7 separate regions of the Homo sapiens genome follow, and all the other regions are linked to region 4. Evidence: promoter capture Hi-C in 16 types of primary human blood cells and fetal thymus (Javierre and others, 2016). All regions are on one chromosome and are shown on one strand. Each heading gives the region's core, a stretch centred on a gene start or on the middle of the fragment in contact. The rest is flanking DNA. Distances are from core to core; before and after follow the strand shown. Region 1 holds the start of IL13RA1 (interleukin 13 receptor subunit alpha 1). Region 2 has its middle 19 kb from the start of IL13RA1. Region 3 has its middle 35 kb from the start of IL13RA1. Region 4 holds the start of DOCK11 (dedicator of cytokinesis 11). Region 5 overlaps DOCK11 (dedicator of cytokinesis 11). Region 6 overlaps IL13RA1 (interleukin 13 receptor subunit alpha 1). Region 7 has its middle 4.7 kb from the start of WDR44.

Evidence for each region. Contacts are between HindIII fragments. The CHiCAGO score rates a contact against its expected background, and 5 or more counts as called.
Region 1: a contact is called between a fragment that was not itself captured here and the fragment with the promoter of DOCK11 in region 4, in 4 of 17 cell types (neutrophils, monocytes, M2 macrophages and 1 more). The highest score is 11.4, in neutrophils.
Region 2: a fragment that was not itself captured here is called in contact with the fragment with the promoter of DOCK11 in region 4 in 1 of 17 cell types (neutrophils); the score reaches 6.8 in neutrophils.
Region 3: a contact is called between a fragment that was not itself captured here and the fragment with the promoter of DOCK11 in region 4, in 5 of 17 cell types (total CD8 T cells, neutrophils, naive CD4 T cells and 2 more). The highest score is 7.1, in total CD8 T cells.
Region 5: a fragment that was not itself captured here is called in contact with the fragment with the promoter of DOCK11 in region 4 in 5 of 17 cell types (activated CD4 T cells, naive CD8 T cells, non-activated CD4 T cells and 2 more); the score reaches 7.5 in activated CD4 T cells.
Region 6: a contact is called between a fragment that was not itself captured here and the fragment with the promoter of DOCK11 in region 4, in 2 of 17 cell types (neutrophils and monocytes). The highest score is 9.7, in neutrophils.
Region 7: a fragment that was not itself captured here is called in contact with the fragment with the promoter of DOCK11 in region 4 in 2 of 17 cell types (fetal thymus and neutrophils); the score reaches 6.2 in fetal thymus.

The regions. Positions count from the first base shown.
Region 1 is chrX:118,727,482-118,731,517 of GRCh38, reverse strand. It overlaps IL13RA1 (interleukin 13 receptor subunit alpha 1), which reads right to left and starts at 3,912. Exons shown (of 11, transcript NM_001560.3): 1 at 3,792-3,912. The coding sequence starts at 3,879. RefSeq lists a silencer at 3,874-4,036. The HindIII fragment of the contact is 2,243 bases long and covers 306-2,548 here.
Region 2 is chrX:118,706,826-118,710,616 of GRCh38, reverse strand. No RefSeq gene overlaps it. Among named protein-coding and RNA genes, the nearest start is that of IL13RA1, 19 kb to the left of the region's middle. The HindIII fragment of the contact is 7,114 bases long and covers 1-3,791 here.
Region 3 is chrX:118,690,360-118,694,201 of GRCh38, reverse strand. No RefSeq gene overlaps it. Among named protein-coding and RNA genes, the nearest start is that of IL13RA1, 35 kb to the left of the region's middle. The HindIII fragment of the contact is 4,246 bases long and covers 383-3,842 here.
Region 4 is chrX:118,493,895-118,497,687 of GRCh38, reverse strand. It overlaps DOCK11 (dedicator of cytokinesis 11), which reads right to left and starts at 1,873. Exons shown (of 53, transcript NM_144658.4): 1 at 1,615-1,873. The coding sequence starts at 1,716. RefSeq lists silencers at 1,346-1,405, 1,576-1,635, 1,726-1,805, 1,916-2,055 and enhancers at 1,085-2,063, 2,466-2,535. The HindIII fragment of the contact is 5,195 bases long and covers 1-3,793 here.
Region 5 is chrX:118,664,436-118,668,694 of GRCh38, reverse strand. The region is part of intron 45 of DOCK11 (dedicator of cytokinesis 11); the gene reads right to left. Among named protein-coding and RNA genes, the nearest start is that of IL13RA1, 61 kb to the left of the region's middle. The HindIII fragment of the contact is 3,973 bases long and covers 1-3,665 here.
Region 6 is chrX:118,744,511-118,748,288 of GRCh38, reverse strand. IL13RA1 (interleukin 13 receptor subunit alpha 1) reads right to left here. Exons shown (of 11, transcript NM_001560.3): 3 at 1,197-1,335. Among named protein-coding and RNA genes, the nearest start is that of IL13RA1, 19 kb to the right of the region's middle. The HindIII fragment of the contact is 1,325 bases long and covers 1,017-2,341 here.
Region 7 is chrX:118,339,388-118,343,389 of GRCh38, reverse strand. No RefSeq gene overlaps it. Among named protein-coding and RNA genes, the nearest start is that of WDR44, 4.7 kb to the left of the region's middle. The HindIII fragment of the contact is 2,449 bases long and covers 443-2,891 here.

The DNA of each region.
Region 1 (4,036 bases), core at 178-2,677, 230 kb before region 4:
GCAAACTCTGCCTCCTGGGTTCAAGCGATTCTCCTGCCTCAGCCTTCCGAGTAGTTGGGATTACAGGTGTGCACTGCCACGCCTGGCTAATTTTTGTATTTTTAGTAGAGACTGGGTTTCGCCATGTTGGCCAGGCTGGTCTCGAACTCCTGACCTCAAGTGATCCACCCACCTCGGCCTCCCAAAGTGCTGGGATTACAGGTGTGAACCACTGTGCCTGGCCAGGGTTGCTTTGGTTTTCTGTTGAATTGATATGTGTCCCTGGCCTTTGAGACAGAACAAGTATCCCTTCTACCTGATAAGCTTCCCTTAGGCACCTAATTTCAACCATGTCTTGGGGATTGCACCACTGACTTCAGAAAAGGGAGTAGGAAGGGACCCAAGTATGTCTGTATCTAAACCTCAAATCCCAAGTCTGTACAGTCATCTAGCACAACATCCTATTTAAATTAAGAGTTAACACAATCTACTATTTCATAAGAAGGCATTTTGCTTAGCTTATAGCTTTTGCTCTCGCCTGTCCAATCACAGCAGCTAGCAGAGGCATGCACATTTTGGGAAAAGTTAAGGAAATCACAAGAGTCATATATGAGTCATCTGTCCCTTCCCTTACATCCACTCAGGCATCAACTCCTGTTCGTTTTTTTCTTCCAACATCTTTCTTAGTTACCCCAATCATGCAAATATGCTCTGTTGTGCCCCACCAGGTGGGAAGATACCAGTAAGTCATGGTCCTGGACAGGAAGGGTTCGCAGCACATTTTTCTAGTGGAGACCTGCAACCATAGATTCTTATGTAGCTTCACACTCCAGGGGCTCCCCTACCCAGTGAAGTCTCCCTGCTTGCTTCCTCCTTCTGTGTTATTTTTCCCATGCTGTGCCGGACTCAGAGCTTTCAAGGGCAAATCAAGCTATTCTGCCTGGATTGACTTTACCAATGCACTCTCCTGCCAAGCCAGGTTCCTTCTTGACCACAAAGGAGCACTCTTGCCCTCATTTCTGGGTCTCTGCTCCTGCTATTGCCCCCACCTGGAATAAATTCTCCACCTACTCAAATCCCAGTCATCCAGAAGATCTAGCTCAAGTTTTACCTCTTCCATAACACTACCAACCGTCAGCTTTTTCTCTTTTGAATGCCTATAGTACTAGTTGTTTGGACCACACAGCCCAGCCACTATAAAGCCAGTCTCCAATGTAGTATCATTCGCTTCTTTTTTTGTTTTGAGACAGTCTTGCTCTGTCGCCCAGGCTGAAGTGCAGTGGCCTGATCTTCCCTCACTGCAACCTCTGCCTCCCAGGATCAAATGAGTCTCATGCCTCAGCTTCCTGAGTAGCTGGGATTACAGGCATGTAATCCCACACTCGGCTAATTTTTGTATTTTTAGTAGACGGGGTTTTGCCATGTTGGCCAGGCTCAAACTCCTGGCCTCAAGTGATCCATCTGCCTCAGTCTCCTAAAGTGCTGGGATTACAGGCATGAGCCACTGCACCCGGCCTAATATAGTATCATTAGCTTCTTAACAAATGGCTTGCACATACTTTCGTGGGTCCCAAGCCGTCCTGCCCTGCTACCCTGGGAGGTGTCCAGCTAAGGACTCTCGTCTTTTCTGCTGGGCAGAAGCAATGAGTACAGTGGTTAAGGGCATGGCCTCTGGAATCAGGCTGCCAGGGTTGGAAACCTAGCTCTTCCACTTTGCCAGGTATGCGAATTTGGGCAAGGGTCTTGGTCGCACTGTGCCTCAACTTTTTCGTGTACAAAATGGGACTAATAACAGCACCTACAAGTTATATTATTGGTAAAGATTAAATGAAATAGTACAAGTAAAGCAGCTAGAAAACTGCTGGGCATAAATGCTATATACATGCTAGTTATAATTAAGACATGCCACAATGTGGGCCATTGAGTGGGACAGGTTAAACTAAGCTAGTAATCTAATCACTTTTATAAACACTCTGAGGATTAGAGCTGGAGGAGCTCTTAGAATTTATGCAGTTCAACCTCCTCATTTCACAGATGAGAAAACTAACTGCAGCACAAAAGAGAGGAAATGACCAGCCCAGAGTCCCACAGGTGGTAAATATCAGAACCACTAAAACTCAAGTCTCACTGGAAACATCTAATTTTTTCCCACCATACCTCAATGCAATTCTATCAATACTTTTAATGGGGAAAGAAGTTTGTTTTCTAAATAAGCAAGCTAACGACAAACCATTGTGACAGGACTGATGAAGTTGGGAGTTGCCAGTATTCTCTAGATGGCCAGCTGTTGTTTCAGGTGTGTGTGGGAGTGAGTCTGTAGGAGGGAGGGTGCTGGAGTGGCACTGTGAAAATCAGGAGACTAATGAGACGGGTAACTTTAGACAAGTTCCTTCCCTTCTCTGGACTGCAATGTCCCCATATGATTACGGAAATCAGGTGTACCCAACTAAACTAGAGGCCCTTTTGGGGCAAGAATTTTGCTATACACTCTCAGGTTCTAAGTCAACCTAGAGGGCCTGACTCAGTACTAAATAAGGCAGACACCTGAATAATTATTGACTGACAAGCTTCAAGTCTCCCTCAGGTCTCTACTCAAATGCCACCTTTCAGCAACATTTGTTTTCTTCTCGATCCACCCTTTTTACAATGGCAAACCCCTTCCCACCTGCTCTGTTTTTCTCTACTTAACACCCTCAGACATATCATATATTTTACCCCCACCCCCCGATATGTCTGAGGGCAGGCACCTCATCTGTTTTGCTCACTGCTGCATCCTCAGCCCCTAAACACTGCCTGGCAGCATGTATTTTATTGACTGAATCCATAGAGGGCATTAAGGTTTCCTAATCAACATTTCAACTTGGATTTCAAAGCACATTGGTAAAAATGCAATAAGCATATATAAGTGTTTGTGTCAATGTGATAATAAAACCTATACAGTTTGGGGCTTTCATTGTCACCAAAAACGTCCAGAAGGCCATTCCTTCCAGGAGCTGCTCCTAAGGAAGTCATTAACTCCCAATTTTTCACAACTGCCAGGTTGATTAACTAGAAGTTACCAAACAGGGTGAGGGATATACACAACTCTCTGAAGTATCTTTGCAACTTTTCCATAAATCTACAATTACCCTAAAATATAAGGTTTATTAAAGAGAGTGGGGTGGGGGGAGCATCTGCCGGGATGCTATTCTGGATTTCCCAAAGGATTTCTTCGACGCCAGAGGAGGTCATGAGCGTCACGTCCTTTTTCAACAAGGACTGAGATGTTTAGAGGTTCCCTTCAACTTCCACTCGCAAGAGCCACCCTTAGACAGTGAGGATTGGCGCGGCCTCGGGCAAAGAGCCCCGGCGCGTTCTCAGCTCGCCTGGACTTCGGTCGTGGTCCCCGCCGGCTCTGGCGCCTCATTTCCTCCCGGGCTCACAGGCGACATTCCGGGCGCTGACCCACGGCCCTCTGACGCCGTGGGCATGTTTCGGGCCCCCCGCCCCCGCACGCCTGGACGCCAGCCTCCTGGGCTCTTCCCACTACAAGTCGCAGCCCTCTTACTTCGCTGCCGCCACCTCCGCCGCACCCGGAGTTCGGGAAAACCCCGCAGCTCCCGGGTCCCACCTCGAACCGGCCCCAGTACCGGGCCCCAGAGATCCCGCGCGGGAAGCCGCAGCCGCCGAGCGCGGGGCCTCGCGAGGGCAGCCCCCAGCACCCACCCCAGCTTCGGCCCTCCGCCCGGCGTTGACCTCCGGGGCCTTTCAGCCGTGACCCTCACCGCCCTCAGCCCTCCGGCCGCCCCTCGGGCCCCGAGGGTCGCACTCACCCGTAGGCGCGGCGCCCCCGCCCCCGCCCCCGCCGCCGGCGCAGAGCAGCAGCGCCCACAGCCCGCAGAGCCGCGCCGGCCACTCCATGCAGCCTCTCGCCTCGGAGCCCGGCCGGGCTGGAGCCTTGGCAGTCCCCGCCTCCTTCGCTCCCTCTTCCACTTCCCGGCTCCGCCGCCCTGGAGGCTGGGGGCCGGCGCAGACGGGAAGGGCCGCCCCGCCCACCGGCCTCAGGTAACCTGAGCCG
Region 2 (3,791 bases), core at 411-2,910, 210 kb before region 4:
CCGGGCGTGGTGGCACACGCTTATAGTCCCAGCTACTCGGAAGGCTGAGGCAGGAGAATGGCCTGAACCCAGGAGGTGGAGCTTGCAGTGAGCTGAGATCGCGCCACTGCACTCCAGCCTGGGTGACAGAGTGAGACTCCATCTCAAAAAAAAAAAAAAAAAAAAAAATAGGAAGAAAGGAAGGGAGAAATAAAAAGAAAGAAAGGAAAAGAAAGAGCAGAACTAATAGTCTTGGCCACAGGGGTTGAATCTCGAATCACTAGATCACAGTTCACCTGCATGTCCCTCTAGTTTTCATTTCCTTCATCCTTTCTGGACTCTATTTTTCTTGCACTCAGTTGTGCCTTTCATTTATCCATTCATTCAACAAATATTTATTGAGCATCTACTATGTGCTGGAAACTGTTTTAGGAGCTGAAGATACAGCAGTGAACAAGATGAAAGTCCTACCCTTATTGAGCTTACATTCTATTTGGGGGAAACAGACCATAATCCAGAAAATGTAATACTATGATGTCAGAGGGTGTGAACTGGTATGGAGAAAAATAAAGCAGGTTAAGGGGATGGGGGGGTCCCGGGAGTGGGGTGAGTGGTTATTTTTTTTTCAGGGAAGGCCTCTGTGATGAGGTGACACGTGAGTCGAGACCTAAAATGAGGAAGAAAGCTATGGTATCATTTTGGGCAAGAGCATTCTAAGTGGAGATAACAGCAACTACAAATGGTCCGAGGTGGAAGTGGACGTGGTGTGTACAAAGGTCAATAAGGAGGCCTGAGTGACTGGAGTGGAGTGGGAGAGGGATAGCAGCTCTTCTCCAGAGGCAGCAAAGTGCCAGATTAGCCAGGGCTTCATAGTCTTTTGCGATTACTTGGAATGAGAAGAGAAGCCATTGGAGGATTTGGACAAAGGCATGACTTAACCTGCCTTATGTGTTGTTGGTTTTTTAAAACTTGAGATAGGGTCTAGTTCTGTGGTCCAGGCTGCAGTGCAGTGATGCGATCTCAGCTTACTATAACCTCCGCCTCCTGGCCTCAAGCACTCCTCCCACCTCAGCCTCCCAAGTAGCTGGGACTACACACATATCAACATGCCTGGCTAATTTTATATATATATATATAGTGTGTGTGTGTATATATATATACACACACATATATATGTGTGTATATATATATACACACATATATAGTGTGTATATATATATACACACTATATAGTGTGTATATATAGTATATATAGTGTATATATATAGTGTATATATAGTGTATATATATAGTGTATATATAGTGTGTATATATAGTATATATAGTGTGTATATAGTATATATAGTGTGTATATATAGTATATATAGTGTATATATAGTATATATAGTGTATAGTGTATACATAGTATATACAGTGTATATATAGTATATATAGTGTATGTATATAGTATATATAGTGTATGTATATAGTATATATATAGTGTATGTATATAGTATATATATAGTGTATATATATACACTATATATAGTGTGTATATATATAGTGTATGTGTGTGTATATATATATATATATTGTGTGTGTGTGTGTGTGTGCACGTGTGTGTAGAGATGGAGTCTCACCATGTTGTCTAGGCTGGTCTGGAACTGCTGGGCTCAATCAATCTGCCCAGCTTGGCCTCTCAAGGTGCTGGGATTACAGGTGTGAGCCACTGTGCCCAGCCTGCATTATGTTTTAAAAGGATCACTTTGGCTGTTGAGTTGAGAATAGACTCTAAGGTAGTAAAGAGTGGATACAGGAAGATAAGTTAGAAGGCTATTGTGGTTAGCTAGGCATGAGATAAAAAGTATATTTTGAAGGGAGAGACACAAATATTTAGTGAAGGATTAGATACAAGGTATGAGAGAAAGAGAGAGGCTGACTCAACTCCTAGGTTTCTGGTCTGAGCAATTAATTGAGTGGTGACACCATTTACCGAGATGGGGAATTCTGGGAAAAGAACAGGCTTGTGGGGTAGATTGAGGGTACTGTTCTGGCCAGGTTAAATTTGAGATATGCAATGGGAAAGGTCATAATACAACTGGGCATAATTTTTTTTTTTGAGACAGAGTATTACTCTGTCACCCAGGCTGGAGTGCAATGGTGCAGTCTCAGCTCACTGCAACCTCTGCCTCACGGGTTCAAGTGATTCTCGTGCCTCAGCCTCCCAAGTAGCTGGAATTACAGGTGTGAGCCACCACGCCCAGTTAATTTTTGCGTTTCTAGTAGAGACGGGATTTCGCCGTGTGGCCAGGCTGGTCTCGAGCTCTTAACCTCAAGTGATCCACCCGCCTCAGCCTCCCAAAGTACTGGGATTACAGACGAGAGTTACTGTACCTGGCCAGGCATAATATTTTTGAGATTAGAGAAATCTGGGTTGGAAACTCAAATTTGGGAGCCATAAGCCTATATATATGACCATGAGATTGGATGAGATCAGGAAAGGCAGCAGGGAGGTTGGTAGATTTGGCAGTGGGAGGAGGATACTCTCTTCTGATTCCAGTTTTTTTTTCAGTGCAATGAGAAAGAAGATCATTTGCTGACAGTGAGATGCAGAAGAGGAAACAAGGTTTGAGGAAAGGGGAGATGATATTAAATAGCTATTTGTGATGTTGTTATATTTTACATTTCTAGGTGTTTGTTGTGGAAAGGGTTTTTGTGTTATTCATTGAGCAAGTTTTGCTGTCATAGCTCACTTTTGTAATGAAGAGAAAGGTAATTTTATTTTATTATTATTATTTCTTTGAGACGGAGTCTACCTCTGTCACCCAGGCTGGAGTGCAGTGGTGCGATCTTGGCTCACTGCAGCCTCGACCTCCTATGCTCAGGTGATCCTCCCACCTCAGCCTCCCGAGTAACTGGGACTACAGGTATGTGCCACCACACCCAGCTAATTTTTTTTGCATTTTTGTAGAGATGGGATTTCACCATGGCTGGTCTTGAACTCCTGACCTCAAGTGATCCGCCTGCCTTGGCCTCCGAAAGTGCTGGGGTTACAGGTGTGAGCCACTGCACCCGGCCAGTAATTTTAAATTGAAAGATAAGTAGATAACAATCATCCTGTCGAAAATCAGGCAGAAGATGTTTTATTAAGACATTGACTGGCTGGGCATGGTGGCTCATGCCCATAAATCCCAGCACTTTGGGAGGCCGAGGTGGGAGGATCACCTGAGCCCAGGAGTTCGAGAACAGTTCTGGGCAACATGGCAAGACTCTCATCCCCACAAAAACATTTAAAAAGTAGAACAATAAGTAAATAAAAGAAACTGATTAGACACCATAGAAAAAGGAAACAATCACAAATTTGAAATGTTCCTTTTTTTTTTTTTTGAGACAGAATCTCACTCTGTCACCCAGGCTGGAGTGCAGTAGTGTAATCTCAGCTCACTGGAACCTCTGCCTCCTGGGTTCAAGCAATTCTCCTGTCTCAGCCTCCCGAGTAGCTGGGATTACAGGCACCCGCCACCACGCCCAGCTAATTTTTATGTATTTTAGTAGAGACGGAGTTTCATCAGGTTGGCCAGGCTGGTCTGGAACTCCTGACCTCAAGTGATCCACCTGCCTTGGACTCCCACAGTGCTGGGATTACAGGTGTGAGCCACAGTGCCCGGCCTGAAATGTTTCTTATATTCCAGTAATTGAATAAAATAGGAACTAGATTGGATTTCCTCTTTTTCCCCTTTACACAGAAGGAATGACATCAAAGAGTGGTTTACCTAATGTCTCTTGCTCGCTGTCACCATGATGTGGTGACTGTCATCATGTAGGTGGCACTA
Region 3 (3,842 bases), core at 1,256-3,755, 200 kb before region 4:
CTCTACCCATATGGAGGTTACCTTTTAAATGAAAAAGTGGAAAAGATGAACCCTTTTTAGTCTCTAGAAAGTTGCAAGAAGTTGAAGCAGAAGACCAAAGGAAAAAGTAGAGTTGAAAACAATAGACTATAAATCAGGATACCGTGACCTCATCTCTAATTTCCTGCGTGTCTTGAGTGCATTTCTTAACCATTTATGCATCCATTTCCTTATATGTGATACAGGATCACATGAAGAATTGATTCCTATATGACATATATAAGGAGAATTGGATCAGAAAATAGATGCAAAACATGTTGGAGGAAACTTCCTGAACCAGATAAAAAGCATCCATAAAAAACCCACAGGTAACACCATACTGAAAGGTGAAAGACTGAAAGCTTTCTCCCAAAGATCAGGAACAAGACAAGGCTATCTGCAATTCTGCTACTCAATATTATACAGGAAGTTCTAGCTAGGTTCTAGGTAACAAAATAAAATAAAAGACATCAAGATTTAAAAAGAAGTAAAACTATATCTGCAGATGATATGATCTTATGTATAGAAAAACCTAAAGAAGCCACCAAAAACACGATTAAAGCTAATACAGAAATTCAGCAAGATTTTGGGATATCAGATCAATATACAAAGACCATTTGTATTTCTATAAACTAGCAATGAACAATCCAAAAATAAAATTAAGAAAACAAATCAGGCCGGGCGCAGTGGCTCATGCCTGTAATCCCAGCACTTTGGGAGGCTGAGGCAGCTGGATCACGTGAGGTCAGGAGTTTGAGACCAGCCTGGCTAACATGGTGAAACCCCGTTTCTACTAAAAATACAAAAAAATTAGCCAGGTGTGGTGCCATGGGCCTGTAATCCCAGCTACTTGGGAGGCTGAGGCAGGAGAATCGCTTGAACCCGGGAGGCAGAGGTTGCAGTGAGCTAAGATCGCGCCATTGCACTCCAGCTTGGGCCACAGCAGCGAAACTCCATCTCACTAAATAAATAAATAAATAAATAAATAGAAAAGAAAAGAAAACAAATCCATTTACAATAGCATTAAAAAGGATAAAATACTAAGGAATAAACTTCCTTGTGGGCATAAGGAATAAACAAAAGAAGTGTAAGACTTATATACTGAAAACTGTAAAACATTGTTGAAAGAAATTAAAGATGATCTAAATAAATAGAAAAACATCCTATTTCATGGGGGCTGGAACACTTATTATTATTGAGATGGCAATACTCTGCACATTGAATTACAGATTCACAGCAAATCCTGCCAAAATCCCAGCGGCCATTTTTTTTTTTTTTTTTTTTTTTGAGATGGAGTCTTGCTTTGTTGCCCAGGCTGGAGTACAGTGGTGCAATCTCGGCTCACTGTAAACTCCGCCTCCCACCTTCACGCCATTTTCCTGCCTCAGTCTCCCGAGTAGCTGGGACTACAGGCACCTGCCACCACGCCCGGCTAATTTTTTTTGTATTTTTAGTAGAGACGAGGTTTCCCCCTGTTAGCCAGGATGGTCTCCATCTCCTGACCTCGTGATCCACCCACCTCGGCCTCCCAAAGTGCTGGGATTACAGGCGTGAGCCACTGCGCCCAGCCTGCCTTTTTTTTTTTTTTTTTTTTTTAAACAGCTATTGACTAGCTGATGCTAAAATTAATATGGGCCTGGGCGTGTGGCTCATGCCTGTAATCCTAGTACTTTGAGAGGCCGAGGAGGGTGGATCACTTGAGGTCAAGAGTTCGAGACCAGCCTGGCCAACATGGTGAAATCCCACCACTACCAAAAATACAAAAATTAACCAGGCATGGTGGCATGTTCCTGTAATCCCAGCTACTCAGGAGGCTGAGGCAGGAGAATCACTTGAACCCAAGAGGTGGAGGTTGCAGTGACCCGAGATCGTGCAACTATACTCCAGCCTGGAGGACAGAGTGAGACTCCGTCTCAAAAAAATAAGATAAAATAAAATAAAAATGGAAATGCGAGGGGCCTAGAATATACAAAACAATTTTGAAAAAGAATAAAGTTGGAGGACTCACACTTCCAAATTTCAAAATCTTACTACAAAGCTATAGTAATTAAGACTTTGTGGCACTAGCGTAAGGACAGATACAGAGGTCAATAGAATAGAACTAAGAGTCCAGAATAAACCCACATATTTTTGGTCAATTGATTTTTTATAAGGGTGCCAAGGCAATTGGATGGGGGAAAGATTCTTTTCAACAAATGGTGCAGGGAAAACTGGTTATCCACATGCAAAAGAATGAATCTGAATCCCTACAACACACCATATACAAAATTAGCTCAAAATGGACCAAAGACCAAAAGTAAGAGTTAAGATTATAAAACTCTTAAGAGAAAACATAGGTGTAAATTTCTGTGAAATTGGATTACGCAAGGTCTTCTTAGATACAATGCCAAAGCACAGGCAACAAAAGAAAATATAAATTGGACTGCATCAAAATTTTTAAAAACTTGAATGCTTCAAAGAACACCATCATGAAAGTGAAAAGGCAACACACAGAACAGGAGAAATATGTTTAAATCATATACTTGCATCTCGAATAAAGAACCCTGCAACTCAACAATAATAGTAATAATAGTAAAGCAACCTGATTTAAAAATGGGCTAAGGGGCTGGGAACGGTGACTTATACCTGTAATCCCAGCACTTTGGGAGGCCAAGGTGGGTGGATTGCTTGAGGCCAGGAATTCGGGACCAGCCTGGGAAACATGGCGAAACCCCAATTCTACAGAAATTAGCCAGGTGTGGTGGTGTTCATCTGTAGTCCCAGCTACTTGGGAAGCTGAAAAGGGAGGATCGCTTGAGCCCGGGATGGGAAGGTTGCAGTGAGCTGAGATCGCACCACTGCACTCCAGCCTGGGCAACACAGCAAGACCCTGTCTCAAAAAAGCAAATGGTCTAAGGACTTAAAAGAGATATTTCTCTGAGGAAGATACAAAAATGGCCAGTAACCACATGAAAGAATTCTCAACATCATTAGACATCAGGGAAATTCAAATGAAAACCACAAAGAGATACTACACACTTGCTAGGATGGCAATAATCAAAGAGGCAGATAATAACAAGTGTTGTCAAGAATATTGAGAAACTGGGACCCTCATACATTGCTGGTGGTAATATAAAGTGGTGCAGCTGCCGTGGAAATCAGTCTGGCAATTCTTCAAAAGGTTAAACATGGAGTTACCATATGAACCAGTCATTCCACTTCTGTGTACATGCCCAAGAGAACTAAAAACATGTCCACACAAAAACTTGTGAGTGTTCACAGCAACATTATTCACAGTAGCCAAAAAGTGGAAATAACCCAAATGTCCATCAACTGATGAGAAGATAAAATATGGTGTATCTATATAATGGATTATTATTTAGCCATAAAAAGGAATGAAGTACTGATACATTCTACAACATCGATGAACTTTGGAAATATGCTATGTCAAAGAAGCTGGACACAAAAGGCCACATATTGTATGACTGCATTTATATGAAATGTCCAGAACAGGTAAACCTTGTAGGGACAAAAAGTAGATTAGTGGTTGCCAGGGGCTGGAGGATGATGACCGGTAGGAGTGACTGCTAATGAGTATGGGGTCTCTTTCAGGTGATAAACATGTTTTAAATTGTAGTGATACTTGCACAACTCTGTGGATGTAATTTTAAAAAACACTGAATTGTGTACTTTAAATGGGTAAATTGTATGGTATGTGAATTATATCTCAATAAAAAGGAAAAACAAAGCAAAAAAAAAGAACATTGGAAAAGTTTTAAAATGCTATGCACAGAGGCAAAATCTTAGAACTTAGCCACGACTCCCATTAGGAGATGAACAAACAT
Region 4 (3,793 bases), core at 624-3,123:
TAACAATCACCCAAGATGAGAGCCCTGGTATAAATGCTCTGCACACAGCTTGCCTTCCTCTCTTAACTGGCTGTGATGACAGGCAAGGCTCCAATCTGACCTCAACAGGTCCTCACTCCAAAATCAGACTGAAATACACAAGCCAAGTCCATTAAAGTAACATTAAAGGTCTGGATTTAGCTCCACTAAACAGCAGAATTAAACTTTCAAGGGTCTAGCCACAATAAAGAGATTTCTTTAAAGTCACTTAGGTTTGCACAGTTGTAGCTATTAGGGATCAGATCTTTATCTCAAAGGTACATAGTTTACCTTTGATCCTCCTCCAGAACTCCCACTAATGTCAACTTTCTCCACTGTTGGGATCAAGCCCCTGGCCTCCCTTTAATGCTGGGTTTTATTGCTGATTCTACAAGATCAACAGAAAAATTACAAGGAAAAGCTGTGAAGTTCCCTTCCGATGACAAGTTGTTTTAACAAAAAGAGCCCTCTCTTAAACGGTGAAATTTAAACACAGCAAACGACTCGCTGTAAAATGGAGCTGAGGGAGACAAAAACAAACAAAAACAACAACCAAAAAACAAAGTAACAAAACAAACACTAATTAATCAGTCCGATTGCTTATTCAGGGTTTGTTCGCTTGTCCAGGAAACTGGCAACGAGTGTCTTGAAAACAAGAGAAGGGGCAAGTGCCCGTTAGCACCCTTTAGCCTTTCTCCAGAGTCAGACAATCTGGATAAGGCTGAGGGTGCTCTGGGAGGGTTCCCAGGGAGTCAGCGCGCTTTCGAATCCCCATCCCCCAGTCCTGAGCTGTGGGGCTCTGACCCCAGGTCCTCCATCCCTGGACTGACACACCCAGTCTTCCCCCAAATCCCCACGGCACCGTCCCCTTGGTCCCCTTGCCTCTGGAGCGCTCGCGTGTCCCCGAGGGACACACTCTCCCTGCGGTGGATGACCCTGCGCCCACTCTGTCGCAGAACCCCGTTGTTTCTAATGCCCTTCCTCCGCAGCAGCACCCCTTCAACACCCATCACCACCCTCTCTCCCCAGTTGCAGGAGGAAGTCGCTCTGCTTCCTCTGTTCTCACCGCCAGCCCGAGCTTGGGCGCCCGGGGCTTTCTGGGTGGGGTTCTTTTTTGTGTACACAGTGTGTGTATGTGTGCGCGCGAGAGTGTGTGTGCCAAACGCTCATCGCATCCTTCCGCCTAGGCGGCCTCAGGTGCTCGCGGGAGGGGATCAGGATCTCGTCGTGCCCTTGTCCCCGGCTCTTTGTGCCGAGTCCAGAGCAGCGCGAGGTCAGCTCTTTAGCTCACACCCCCGGCCCCGACCCTGGGTGGGAGCCTCCGCCTCCGCCTCCTCCGCAGCCGTCCGAGCCCGGCTTTTGCCCGTCTGCTTCCATCCCGGCGCACGCCTCCGCCGTGCCGGGCGGCCGGAGAGCTGTCAGCCGGCGCCTGGGACTCGGACCCCGGCCGGCGGCTGCCGGTGCGAAAACTTACTGGAGCGGAGAAAGACAGCGCGCGGCGCACCAAGCGGCCGCACTGGCGCCGTTCCTGCCCCTTCCCGCGTCGCTCCCGCCTGGAGCGCGTCCCCCGGGATGCCCCGTCCCCCGGCCACTCACCAGCACCACGGAGCCCCGCACGGCCTCAGACACGCTCTGCCGGAGCTCAGCCGCCGTGCCAGGCTTGCTGAGCCGTTTGGTGAATTTGCGCACTTCGGCCATGGCAGCGGCGGCGGGCGGGTCTCGGCGGGCGGGCGGACCTCGGCGGGCGGGTGGACTCACTGCCCCGGCCCGCGGCGGCCGCGGCCGCTGCTGCTCCCTCTGTTTACTCGCCGGCCGGCCGGCCACATCGCAGCTCGGCGGCGGCGCGGCTCACGCTGCTCCTCCCTCCCACCTCCCACCCGCTGCTCCTCCCTCGTTCCCTCCTTCCCTCCTTTTCTCGCTCGCTTCGCCCGCTCACTGTCCTGCCCCACGGCGTCGGCGGCGGCAGCTCCCTCCCCTAGAGGGCCCGAGCTCCGATCGCCACCAGCCGAAGCAGGAGGGTGTGTCTGATGGGGAAGGGTGTGTAGAGGGGGAGGGAGAACTGGAGGTGGGGGCGAGGGTCACGAGGGAAGAGGGGGGAAGTGGCTACCGCTCGGGCTCCGCCCGCAGCTGATGTTGCTGGTGCAGCCGCATCCGGGAGGGGAGATCTGGGCTGCTTCTTTTTTTCCGCTTGAGTGGGGAGGGCGGGGTGGGGTGGGGGAACAGAGAGGGGTGATGAAATGTCTCCAAGAGTGGGGCGTGCTCCTCTCCCGCCCTAGTGCTCCTCTCCCGCCTCCGAGCTGCAGTGCCCGCAGGAGGGCTGGAGAACTCTCACGTCCCTCCACCCCGCAAGCCCCCAGGGCCCAGGCGGCTAGGGGCTGGAAAACAACGTGGAGCAGCCGCCTTTTGTGTGCTCCTTGGGGAAGGGTCGCACCAATGTCGAAGGACAGAGAGCTGCTTTCCAGCGTGAGCGGCTCGACTGGGTCCCCCTCCTCGCCCACACCGTTTTCCTACTCAGTTGGCTCACCTAACAGGGGGCAACACTGGGGAGAGAGCATGCTTCTGGAAGTGGGAACTTATTGTGGCGGCACCCCTCGCTCCGTCCCCCACGGGGGAGAGCTGGGTGGTGGAGCCTGAGCCTGTGGCAGGTGATCCCTAGGTCAGCACTGACTGCACCAGGAGTGGGGTGGGGGTGGGCATTAGGATGAGCCTGTGGCAGGTGATCCCTAGGTCAGCACTGACTGCACCAGGAGTGGGGTGGGGGTGGGCATTAGGAAGGCCATCTCCCTGGGTTTGGTGGACTTACCAATCTTATAGTAGCTTTTACAAGTGCCCTGCACTCACCTCTCCATTTCCTATTCATCTCCTTACTCTTTTCAGCTTCCAAGAAATTGTTTTTCCAAGAATCAAAGAACATCTCATAACAGGGTATAAAACGAACATGCTTAAGACAGAAATAGGGACGGGAATCTTGAAGTACTAGTGACCCTGTCAGACCTCCTGAAGTGCAGAGTGAAAGGCTCCACTGATGGTGGCAGTTTTCTATCTGGTTATTTCATTTGTTGAGAGTTTGAAAATGGCCCTCAGTCTGGGGGACCGAGCAGCCCTTCTGAAAGCAGTCCTACCACCACCCATCGGGCACTTTCCCCACCCTCAAAGACCAAACAGTCTTTTAGGGGACTTTATTATGGAAACAAGGGCATGCGTGGTGATGGTTTCTTTGAACCCAGAAAAGGCCAAGTCTCTTCGCAGTAAGCCTATTTCAGCCATCCCATCAGTCTCAATAAAGCATATATGGAGGCTCCTAGAGGGCCTGGGACCTGGAAGTCCTCTAAAGACATTCTGTCACAAATCTTAGTTTTGCACAGTACGTGTAAAATTTGTTAATTGTTGCGTGTAGGCTGATCTCCAAGAATTCATACCCTCTGTTCCATAAATGCCTGTGTGGCTCATGCTGTTGGTTACCACCACAATAGCTATAACACTTTTTGCTTGCAAAGAGAGCCCAGATTTACTTCAGATATAGGGCAGAGCCACAGGGTTTAAGGAAGGCAGGCCCAACTCCAGGTGATGAATCATGACTGATGAAAAAACCATGATAAGCTCCCTCTTATTGACTAGTGGGATGGTCTAGACTCCCAATCGGTTTGGGCCAATAAGATATAAGAGGGAAGTGTGAGAGGAGGGTTCCTGGGAAAGTTTTTCTACCTTGATGAAAAAAAAAGGAGAGAGGCCCAGGCCCCACTTTCTTCCTGAGAGGGATGTTTTCTTGCAATGC
Region 5 (4,259 bases), core at 430-2,929, 170 kb before region 4:
CATTATTTACGTATTATCTACATATCTGACTTTTCCAATAGGCTGTGATTCTTTGAGAGTAGGGACAATATTTTACTTACATTGGCTTTTCCAGTAATTATTTTAGTGTCACTGGATAGTATATGTGAAATAAATGTTGCTACTTGAATAAAACATCTGTATATTAACATCTGCTAGCCAAATTAAAATTTCCAGCAATTTTGGGACAAACATTGGGGGAATTAAAAATAAGGTGCACACTTAGTATGAATTATCCCAGGAATGTAAAGTTAGGTTACAATTAGAAAAAAAAAACAATGTAATATACAACCTCATAAACTGAATAAAAAAGAAAAATTATATCTCTTTCAATAGATGCAAGAAAAAAGCATTTACAACACTCAACACCCATTCATGATATTTAAAAAGAACTCAAGAAACAAAGAATAGAAGAGATCTTCCTCAATCTGATAAGGGGCATTTACTAAAAACCTTAAAGGCTAGACATGTTTCTCCTAAGATTGAGAACAAGTTAGAATGTCTGCTCTCACCACTTCTATCCAACATTATGCTGAAGGTTCTAGCCAGTACAATAAGGCAAGAGAAAGAGAAAAAGCATACAGGATTAGAAAAAGTAAAATTGTTCCGTGCATATGGCATAATTGTATATGTAGAAAATCATAAAAGACATACAAACTATGAAAACTAATAAGCAGATTTAGTAAGGTTGCAGGACGTAAGATCAACATACAAAATCAATTATATTTCTATATACTAGCAACAACATAATAAAAAATAAAAATATAAAAGCAAACAATATTATTTACAATAGCATCAAAACATCACATATCTACCAGTAAATCTAACCCAAGACTTCTACCCTAACAACTACAAAATATTATTGGCAGTTAAAGATAACCCAGATAAATGTCCATTGATTGAGAAATTCAATATTGTTAAACTCTCCATTCTCAGGCTATTTTGAGGAAGTAGAAAAGATGATTCTAAAGATTATATGGAAATTCAAAGGACGTAGAATAGCCAAAACAACTTTGAAAAAGAATAAAGCTGGAGGGCTAACACTACTTGATTTCAAGACTTAAGTTATAGTAATCAAGTGTGATATTGGCATCAAGATGGGCAAATAGATCAGTGGAAGAGAACCGAGAATCCAGAAATAGCCCACACAAATATGAAAAACCGAACTTTTGACCAAGGTGCCAAAGTAAATTCAACGTGACAAAAGGAAAGTCTTGTTTTTCCCCAAATGGTACGTCTTAAAAAAAAAAAAAACTGTCTTAAAAAAAGAGCTTTGACCTCTATTTCATTCCACAAATGAACTTTAAATATATTATAGACCTAAACAAAACTCGGAAACAAGTTTCTAGGAGAAAACACAGGACAACACTATCAGGATCTTGAGGTAGGCACAGATTTTTGGGACCAGATACAAAAAGAACAAATTATTATAAAATAATAAACTGGATTTCATCAATTACAACCAAAACCAAAATTTTCTGCTCAACCACAGACTCAATTAAGAAAGTGAATGGTCAAGTCAGAAGCTGGTAAAGAAATATACAGCACATATATCTTGACAAAGGATTTATATCCAGGAAAGAACTCCCACAAAACAACAATAAAAAGTAAGCAATGTGATTTCTAAAACGGATAAAAGACAAACATTTCACAAAAGAAAATACAAAAGAGGCCAAGGAACACCTGAAAAAGTGGTAGACATCATCGGTTATTAGGGAAATACAAATAAAAGCCACAATGAGATGTTGATTCACACCTAATATTAATAGAATGGCTAAAATTTAAAAAGATCAGCAATATCAGATGCTAGGGAGGATGTGGGGCAACTAGAACTCTCATCTACTACTGGCAAACAGTATAAAACGGTCCAACCACTTTGAGAAACTCTTCGGAAATTTCTTAAAAGTTAAACATATATCTTCCCTAGGATTCAGCAATGCTACTCCTAGGTATTTACCCAAGAGAAAAAAAGCATATGTCAACAATAAGTCATAGATAGGAATGTTTAAAGTAGACTTATTCGTAACAGCCTGAAACTGGAAACAATTCAAAATCCATCAACTGAATGGATTTAAAATTTGTATATAAAGACAAAGAACAAACTTTTGATATACCCAACAATATGGATGAATCTCAAAAACATTAGGTTAAACAAGAGAAGCCAGATTAAAAAAAGGTACATATTGAATGATTGATTCCATTTTTATGCCATAAAAACTAATTCATGGTGATAGAAATCAGATGGTGGAGGTGGGGAGCCTGACTGGAAATGGGCACAAGGGAACCTTTCCCGAAGGAATGGGCATGTTCTATTTTTTGTTTCTGATGGTAGGTTACATGGGTGTATACAACTGTCAAAATTCATCAAATTGTTTAAGATTTTATTACATATTAATTATATCATTTTTATTTTTATTTTTGAGACACAGTCTCGTTCTGTTGCCCAGGCTGCAGTGCAGTGGCACGATCTTGGCTCACTGCAACCTCTGCCCCTGGGGTTCAAGAGATTCTTGTGCCTCAGCCTCCTGAATAGCTGGGATTACAGGCCTGTGCCACCACGCTCGGCTAATTTTTATATTTTTAGTGGAGACGGGGTTTCACCATGGGGACAGGCTGGTCTTGAACTCCTGGCCTCAAGTGATCTGCCTGCCTTGGCCTCCCAAACTGCTGGAATTACAGGTGTGAGCCACCACGCCCAGCCCAATTATATATTAATTATATGTTTAAAATCGATTGCAGGGGCACACGTCATCAGGACCTCCTGAGGTGGTGTCATGCAGAAAAAAAAAACTGTTGCAAATCAAGTCAGAAATACATTTTTGGAAACAAGTTACATTGCGTTATTACCGGTTTAACTCACATATTTAAATACAAGCACTAAATGGACAACTGTTTGTATTTTTCATTTCAATGTAACTTCTAAATCAGTGTCAGTTTTTTTAATTGGCTAGGGTTTAAGGAAGAAGCCTTATTATGCAAACTGAAAAATAAAGTGGCACTTGGTAAAACATGATTCTACCTGTATATATCAAATAGAAGTATGTATAAATTACTTGTAGAACCCAAAAGATTTCCAACAAATGTGTTTATACAGAAAACTAATTACAGTTTTTGATTATTAAGAAAAGTTATTGCTCTCCTTAAGAGTATAAAAAAGGGTCAAGCTCAAAGCCATTTCTATGAATACACTGAAGCTGCTGTTTAGAAGGCAAGGATATAAGTTCAGTTGTACTGAACCAGTTAAGCCCCATGAAATCCTCTGAATCTTCCTGCTGTCAGCCTGTAAAACCTGCAGGTCTCTGGGAAATCATCTAACTAATATCCAGAAACATGAATTAACTTGTCCAAGGCTATACAGTCAAAAATTAAGCTGGAATAAAAATTCAAGTATCTTGCATCTCTGTTATGATCAATCAATTCAACAAACATATTTTAAGTATCTATCCTTGTAGGTTCTGAGGGTAAAAGGACACCAACTTGCTTTTAAGAAATCTCACTGCCAAGTAGGTCAATGATAAAACCTGACATTATTCTCACACTTCATGACTTTTTAAGTTTTCGCATGTATTGTGAAGTGACCACGATAGTATTATTGTCCTTATTTTACTGATAGGGAGACAGACTATGTAGAAATAGTAGGTAAAGCTTCTAGGTGTATCATTAATTTAACTAAATAAGCCAGAGCTAAGTTGAGATTTGTGTATTTTAAAAAATCAATTCATAAAGTGTTTATGAAGTGTGTCACTGTAATTTTCATCTCATTGTTTAATACAATTTTTTTAAGAAATGTAATTTTATGGGACTGTAACTTCAATCTCTTTTCTGTGTTTCTTTCTTGTTTTCTACGTTCACACTCTTTGTGAACTTTTCCCCCATGGTTCAGTCCTTGATTCTCCGGTCTTCACTTGCCGTTATTATGTCTAACATTCAGTCTGCTTTGGTCCTCATAAGGATATGACTTCCAGATGTGTATTTCTAACCCTAATCTCTCTCCTTAGATTCAGTTTCATATTTCTTTTTTTTTTCTTTTTTGAGACACAGTCTCACTTTGTCACCCAGGCTGGAGTACAGTAGCACAATCTTGGGTCACTGCAACCTCCACCTCCCAAATTCAAGTGGTTCTCCTGCCTCAGCCTCCTGAGCAGCTGGGATTATAGGCAGGTGCCACCACGTCTGGCTAATTTTTGTATTTTTAGTAGAGCCATGTTGGCCAGGCTGGTCTCGAACTCCTGACCTCAGGT
Region 6 (3,778 bases), core at 430-2,929, 250 kb before region 4:
TTTTACAAACAGCACTTCATGTGTTTGTGATCAGTACAAAGCAGGTAAATGGAATGGCTTAGAGCAAAGGGCACATAGAGCTAAGGACTGGAGGTTAAGAGATGGGGCCCAGCCCTACCCAACCAAGGGACAACATAATATTATATATAATTATATATTATATAATATTATATATATTACATATAATGTATATAATATATATTATATATAGTATATATATGTGTTATATATATATGTTTTTTGTGTGTGTACACACACACACACACACACACACACACACACAACATTCACTCTTTGCCAGGCACTATTCTAAGTACCTCACATATACTGACTTACGTAATCATCCCAATAATTCTAGGAGATAGATACTATCATCATGCCCAGTTTACAGATGAGGAAACTAAGGTGCAGAGGGGCTAAGAAATTTGCCCAAGGTTACACAGCTAGTAGCTGGCAGAGCTGGGATTTAAAGTTAGACAGTTGGTTTCTGGTAGCCCTGCTCTTAATCAGTATATGCTACTCCCTGTATGTAACATAAGAGCCAGAAGGACATTGGGAGAGGTGGGATTGGGGAACAATGATCATCCTCACTACTTGACAGCTTTTCCTAAGGTTGTCTTGTACTATCTTGTCTAGACTTGTATTGGAGCCAGGCCAGCATAATATTTTTCTCTTTAAACAACATCTTTTCCCAAATATATCCTGCATATCAAACTAAGTATCACACATAATGGGTAAGAGAGTATTTTGTGTTTTATTTTTAAAGCACTGGGCCTGAAATGTGAAGACATACAGCAAGTCACGCAGTTCCTTTCTTCCTCATAAAATGGATCAGGGTAATAATACATGCCTTACTCACTTCACAAGATAAGCTTGTGACTCTCGATCTAAAGGAGGGGTGTGCGTGTGTGTGTGTGTGAGTGTGTGTGTGCGCGCGCGTGCATGTGTATATCATTTTTTAAATTATTAAATTTTATATAACTATTAGGCATTGTTATTCAAGTTGTTTGTAAGCTTCTTCAAGGCAGAGACATACTCATATTTTCATTGAGCTGCTAGCACCTAGTACAATGCCTGGCACTTATTAGACTCAGAAAATGTTTGAGAATTGAATTAATTAATGAACAATGCACAAAAGCATTGGAGCATTCAGATTTATTCTCTAAACACCAAGAGATAGCGCTTTCAGTTGTTACCTTCTGGGGGTGAGATGCATTTTTCAACCAAAATGCTAGGCTTCTCACTCTCATTGGTGCTACACTGGGACCCCACTTGCAGACAAATCCTCTCATTCAGGGGTACTTCTATTGAACGACGAGTTTCCGGAGCTATTTTCTAAGGTTAGAAAATTGAAAAAGGCATTGCTTCAGCTAACACACACTTATATAATGAAACATTAGCATGTCTAAATGTGGTGCTTTTTTTATCAAAAAAGTTATCAAATGGTATAGATCAGTGATTCTCAATTGGGGCTGATTTTGTTCTCCCTACCGCTCTCAGAGACATTTGGTAATATCGAACACTTTTTATTGTCCTAACTTGGGAGGGGGAGGTTACCAGCATCTAGTAAGTAGAGGTCAAGGACGCTGCTAAACATCCTACAATGCACACAACAGCCCCCCTCCTCCTACAACAAACCCTTCAGCAAATGTCACTAGTGTCACCATTGAGAAACCCTGGTGTAGATACAACAATTTCCCACATTTTAAAGGTATAAACATGAAATTTACCTATAAACCTACAATGCTAACATATCAACTCTCTAAAAGCAATTTTAAAGGAAACAATATGATTATCAAAATTCACTTAGAAGTAGATGCACTGTACCAGGAAAATTAAGGTTAAAAAGGGATGCTTTAAGAATCCAGGAATCATGCCAGGCTCAGTGGCTCATGCCTATAATCCCAGCACTTTGGGAGGCTGAGGCAGGCAGATCACTTAAGCCCAGGAGTTCGAGACCAGCCTGGGCAAAATGGCAAAACCCCATCTGTACAAAAAAAAATTGGCCAGGTATGGTGGCTCATGCCTATAGTCCCAGCTACTCATGAGGCTGAGGTGGGAGGATCACTTGAGCCTGGGAGCGGGAGGCTGCAGTGAGCCAAGATTGCACTCTAGCCTGGACAATGCAGTGAGACCCTGTCTCAAAAAAAAAATCCAGTAATCATGGTTACTTCTGGGTAAGGAAGTAAAGGAGGAGGGCCTGAGGGCTGAAGAGAGACTTTTCATTAAACCTCTTTCTCTACTGTTTGACTATTTTGACTACCTCATATATATGTATAAATTTCAAACATTGCTATATGTGCTGAGTATATACACTCTCATTCTGAAAAGTAGATAAGCTTTGTGGAACCATAGGAAGCCAATTTATAGACATCATAGAGACATAAATCACCAGTCTGGTTACTATGACTGAGAATAATAAGATTAATGGGCTCTCCGGGAAATTAACATTTCCCAAACTGACAGAGTTGGAATAATTAAGAATGGAGCTGCTTTTAATCAGAGCTCCAAGGAGAGCACCTCCTGTTTTGCAATAGCTTCTGACTCAAGTCAGAGATAGTATTTCCTTTCATCTACATGTTGACGGCCATGAAGAGGAAAATTTGCCACAGTTAGTTCTATCTGCTACCCTAAAGAGCTATTCTGCCATGTCACATGCCTGCTGCCAGCTGAGCATGAGGGCAACTGTGAGATACCCCCAAAACCAGGACATATGGATGGCCTCTGAGAAGTAACTACCAAGTCAACAATGAATAAATCATAGCAAGGACACAAAAACAAAATCACTTTATAGAACCAGAATAGCTCTTAGGTCCAGTCAAGACAGTACTCTGAAAAGGGAGTTGGTCAGCCCTGGAAGAACAGAAAAAGAAATGTCTGTGAGCAAAATCCTGACAGGCAGGAAAAAGAGGGTGATACAGGAATGTGGGCATTGAATTTTTCTGTCCCACTGGCAAAGCTGTTTACTCTCAGTAGGGCCTCCAGCTATTCTTAGACAAGTATATTTTTACAACTAATTTCTGATTCCTCACCAAGAAACCTACTTAACATTTGGCTTCCCATATAGGCTCTGCCGACAGGGATGAAATGCACCAGTTATGCTAACAGAAATCTTCCTAGAATGCTTCACCATTACCATTCCATTTTCACAACAAAGTAAAAAATCAGCCCCTGAGAGATGCATGTGTGCTGAGGAAATGAAGTTTCTGAGTATGTGAAGCTGAAGACCTGCCTCCAGGATCATGGTAGTGGTGGCAGGAAGGCTTCGAATACAAATTTTACCAACCTCACAATTTTACTAAGCACAAGTCCCATATATCTTTGAAGAAGCCACCCTTATCCAAGGATCCATGGCAATTCTTGTTTGGAAGCTATATTTGCCCTTTGAAGACATCAGGGGAAAATGTACAGTCAAATGTCAAATTAGACTGTACAGTCAAATACAGTCAAATTAGAATCATCATGAAGATAATCCCAGTTTTCATATTATAATGGACATTGTTCCAGTTAGAGGGTTACGGAGTTTTAGTACACAAAAATTATCACAATGGAATTTTTAATTTAAAAAATGCCTTAGTGGCCAGGCGTGGTGGGTCACACCTGTAATCCCAGCACTTTGGGAGGCCAAGGTCACCTGAGGTCAGGATCACCTAAGGTCAGGAGTTGGAAACCAGCCTGGCCAACATGGCAAAACACTGTCTCCACTAAAAATACAAAAAAAATTAGCTGGTCGTGGTGGCATGCACCTGTAGTTCCAGCTATTTGGCAGGCTAAGGCA
Region 7 (4,002 bases), core at 418-2,917, 150 kb after region 4:
ACATATAAATACTGCCCATCGTCACTTTTTTTTGTTTTTTTTTTTTTTGAGATGGAGTCTCGCTCTGTCGCCCAGGCTGGAGTGCAGTGGCTCGATCTCTGCTCACTGCAAGCTCCGCCTCCCGGGTTCACGCCATTCTCCTGCCTCAGCCTCCCGAGTAACTGGGACTACAGGTGCTAGCCACCACGACCGGCTAATTTTTTTGTATTTTTAGTAGAGACGGGGTTTCACCGTGTTAGCCAGGATGGTCTCGATCTCCTGACCTCTTGATCCGTCCGCCTCGGCCTCCCAAAGTGCTGGGATTACAGGCGTGAGCCACCGCGCCCGGCCCCATCATCACTTTTAAAGATGTAAAAGATGTGTTTATTTTGCCTGAAATATCAGTTCTTGAGTTTTAAAGCAGCAGATTTTAGGTATCATCCAAGGCAGTGGTTTTGAAGCTTTTCTCTGTATTAGAAATGGAACCTTAATCAAACTTAATTTTATGCAAAAGTCGATATAGTATACAAATAAAAACTGCTCTATTTGAAACAGGGTTTCAAAGTTGAGGTCCCTGTCTGTTTGACCTTCCTTGAATCTCCGGAGACTGTCCTAAGGCCCGATAAAAAAAAAGAACAAATGAAAAACTATTGGTCCAAAGCAGAGGTTGGCAAATTATGGTCCACTGGACAAATCTGTCCCACTCTCTGTTTTTGTAAATAACATATTGTTGGAACATAGCCAGGACTATTTGTTTATATATTGCACATGGCCGCTATCATGGCAGAGTTGAGTAGCTGGGACAGAGACTGTGTGACCCACAAAGCCTAAGCCTAAGATATTTACTATCAGGCCGTTTTTACAGAAAAATTTTCAGATCCTTGGTCCATAAGATACTATTTTCTAGGGTACCTCAGAACTAAAAATACCCTCAAATTAAATGGTTTCAGCAGATCATATGATGCTGCAAAATCATGTGTGTAGATAAAAATAAGAATAAAACCTTCCCTACCTGGCTCATTCCCAATGACTATTAAAATTTCATACATCTAAGGGTAAGGTGGGTTTAAGGAAAATTTTTATGCTTAACTAAATTCCTTATCTGCATAGCAAATACTCTACTCTCCAAAGACTAGAGGTCACAGCCACTGTATGGAACAACTTATCTGTGGGATGTTCATTCTCTCCTCTTGGCAAGAATAATACAAACTGGCAACATCCTTGAGGCTAATTTTGCCGCAACCCCAAGGGTAACCAGTCACTCAGAACATCAGTGTTCCAAGTACATCCTAATGCATGTAGCCTTTTGTTACAAGCAAGAGCTAAAGTGATAACTCAGGAAAAATAATTTTTTATGTACAGTGTTAGGTGATTTGAGACATAATGTTGACAGGAAAAGATTAAATATTACTCACTGTGTTGCCCAGGCTGGTCTTGAACTCCTGGCCTCAAGTGATCCTCTTGCCTTGGCCTCCCAAAGTGTTGGGATTACAGGCGTGAGCCACTGTACCTGGTCTACAACCTGCAACCCTTCTGATACCTACTTCCACAAGCAAATTTCAGGTCTTTTTCAAAGTAAAGTACCATCTTTACTGTAGCATTTATGTATTTCCTAATCATTTTACATGTGTAAAACTGTGCTGCCATTTTTATTAGGTTCATATCTTTTTGTGTATATATCACTGATGAAATTTTTGAATGTTGTGCCCCTACCCCATTTTCCCCATAAGCCTTGTGGTTTTTATTGAACAATTTTGCATAGCAGAGTGATTTTTAGGAATGCTCATGCCCCTTTATAGCAGAACTGACTGTAGTCCAGATGTGGTAGCTTCAGGTATGGCTGGATCCAGGGCCCAAGATATATCAATACGCTCTCTCTTTCTGTCCATCTGCTTCTTTTTGTGTTTTGGCTTCAATTTTCCTACTGCAAACAACTTCCTTCTTGTAGTTAGTGAAGATGGCTGCAAGGAACTTTAGCTTATAATGTCTTAATAACTCTCAGTCCCAAAGGAAGTGAGACTTTCTCTGTCAGTGTTTATATATTAAATCTCAGAGAGGATGTTGATTGGTTTTAGGAGGCCCATCTAGCTAGGAGCATACAGAACTCTCATTTGTTCAGGCCTGGGTCAGCTGATTGCTTGCCACTCGCCAAATCAGGAGAGACTACTGTGATTATCTTCCTTACTAGGACTGCATAGAATATTCAGTGGATGTTTTTTCAAGGAAAGGATACTAGCAAAACAAACAGACAAACAAAAGGATACTAGCAGACAGTAGCAACATGTTTATATAAGTTATTAAGGGGTAAGTCTCTATATACATTGACATGAAAAGAGCTCATAAAGTGTTAAATGAAAACAGATGTTACAGAATACTGTGTATAGAATAATCCCATTCATGTCAGTCATTTATCTATGCACATGTGTATACCTCTGTGTATGGAGAATTCTGGAAAAATATTCACAAAGGATTTACGGCGAGCATCTTTTGTTGCTGATTAAAATAATAATAATAGGAGGTTTGTGCCTTATTTGTACCTTTGTGTAATGATTTTCTACAGCGAATATGTATTACCTTATAAATAAGGGGAAATTATTAAAAGAAAATATATAACCTATCATATACAAGGTAGATTTACATACAAAATTAAGATCTAAAATTCATTTCCTACATAGTGCATAACTATGAGTCCTGGGCCTATTGTAGGTAAGATGGTTTCTGGAACACTTCAGTAAATACCACCAAGAAGCTGAACTTTGAAAAAATACCCACAAAGCAAATCTTGAAATGCAATTAGTCTACCAGTAGAAAGTCATATTTTCTGCACTGCAAGCCTGACACATAAAGAGAATAAGTAATGGTAATTTCTAAAGCAACTAGAAATGGTGAATCTGTGAAACAGATCGGAAGCTTTTTGGAGCAAGGTTGGAGGTATACTTCTAACAATATGGACTAAGCATAATTTTGTTTTTCAACACATTGAGTATATATGGCGTGATCTAAAGAGAAATGAATAAAGGCATATGAACTTCATCCTTCAAAAAAATTATTCTGGGTCACAAACTGGAGAAGATGTCTTTTATCTACCACCCATGGCATCTTTATTTTTTTTAAATGCTTGAAACTCAATCTAAAGGCAAATATTTATATAGAAATGTCAGTCACCAGGCTAATATACACATACACACACACACTCAACAGCAACAACTAGAATTTTCTGGTGCTATAGACTGTTTGTGTTCTCTCAAAATTCATATGTTGAAACCTAATCCCCAATGTGATGGTATCTGGAGGTGAGAAGGAACTTTAAAGGTCATCAGTCCAAGCCTCATATCTCATAGATGAATTCCTTCTACAAACTTCACCAGTAAATGGTCATTCAAGGACATGGAGTTTAGTATTTATCCAATCAATTTTTTGATAACCTCTAATGTTAGCAGATTTCTTCATTTTATTTGGCCCAAATCTACATTTCTGTAATTTTCATCCACTGGTTATGATTCTGGTTACTAAGTCCATACAAAACCTTTCATCTTTTCAAAGATGGTTATCAATTCTCTGTTGTATGTTTATCTTGGGAATATATACTGATATGTTTACACTGAATGTGTTCAGAGACAGATAAATGGGAATTTTGACTACACAATTAAGGTGGTGCATTAAATAAATATGCAATAATATGTGCAGATACTATACATGTCCACCATATGTGTACAGTACCTGTTTAATGGTATGTTCTCTGTGTGTACCTAGTAATAATATGTTTTTTTGTTTCTTTTTTGTTGTTTTTGTTGTTTTGAGACAGAGTTTTGCTCTCGTTGCCCAGGCTGGAGTGCAGTGGCGCGATCTTGGCTCACCACAACCTCCGCCTCCCAGGTTCAAGCGATTCTCCTGCCTCAGTGTCCTGAGTAGCTGGGATTACAGGCATGTGCCACCACGCCTGGCTAATTTTTGTATTATCAGTAGAGACGGGGTTTCACCATGTTGGCCAGGCTGGTCTTGAACTCCTGACCTCGTGATCCA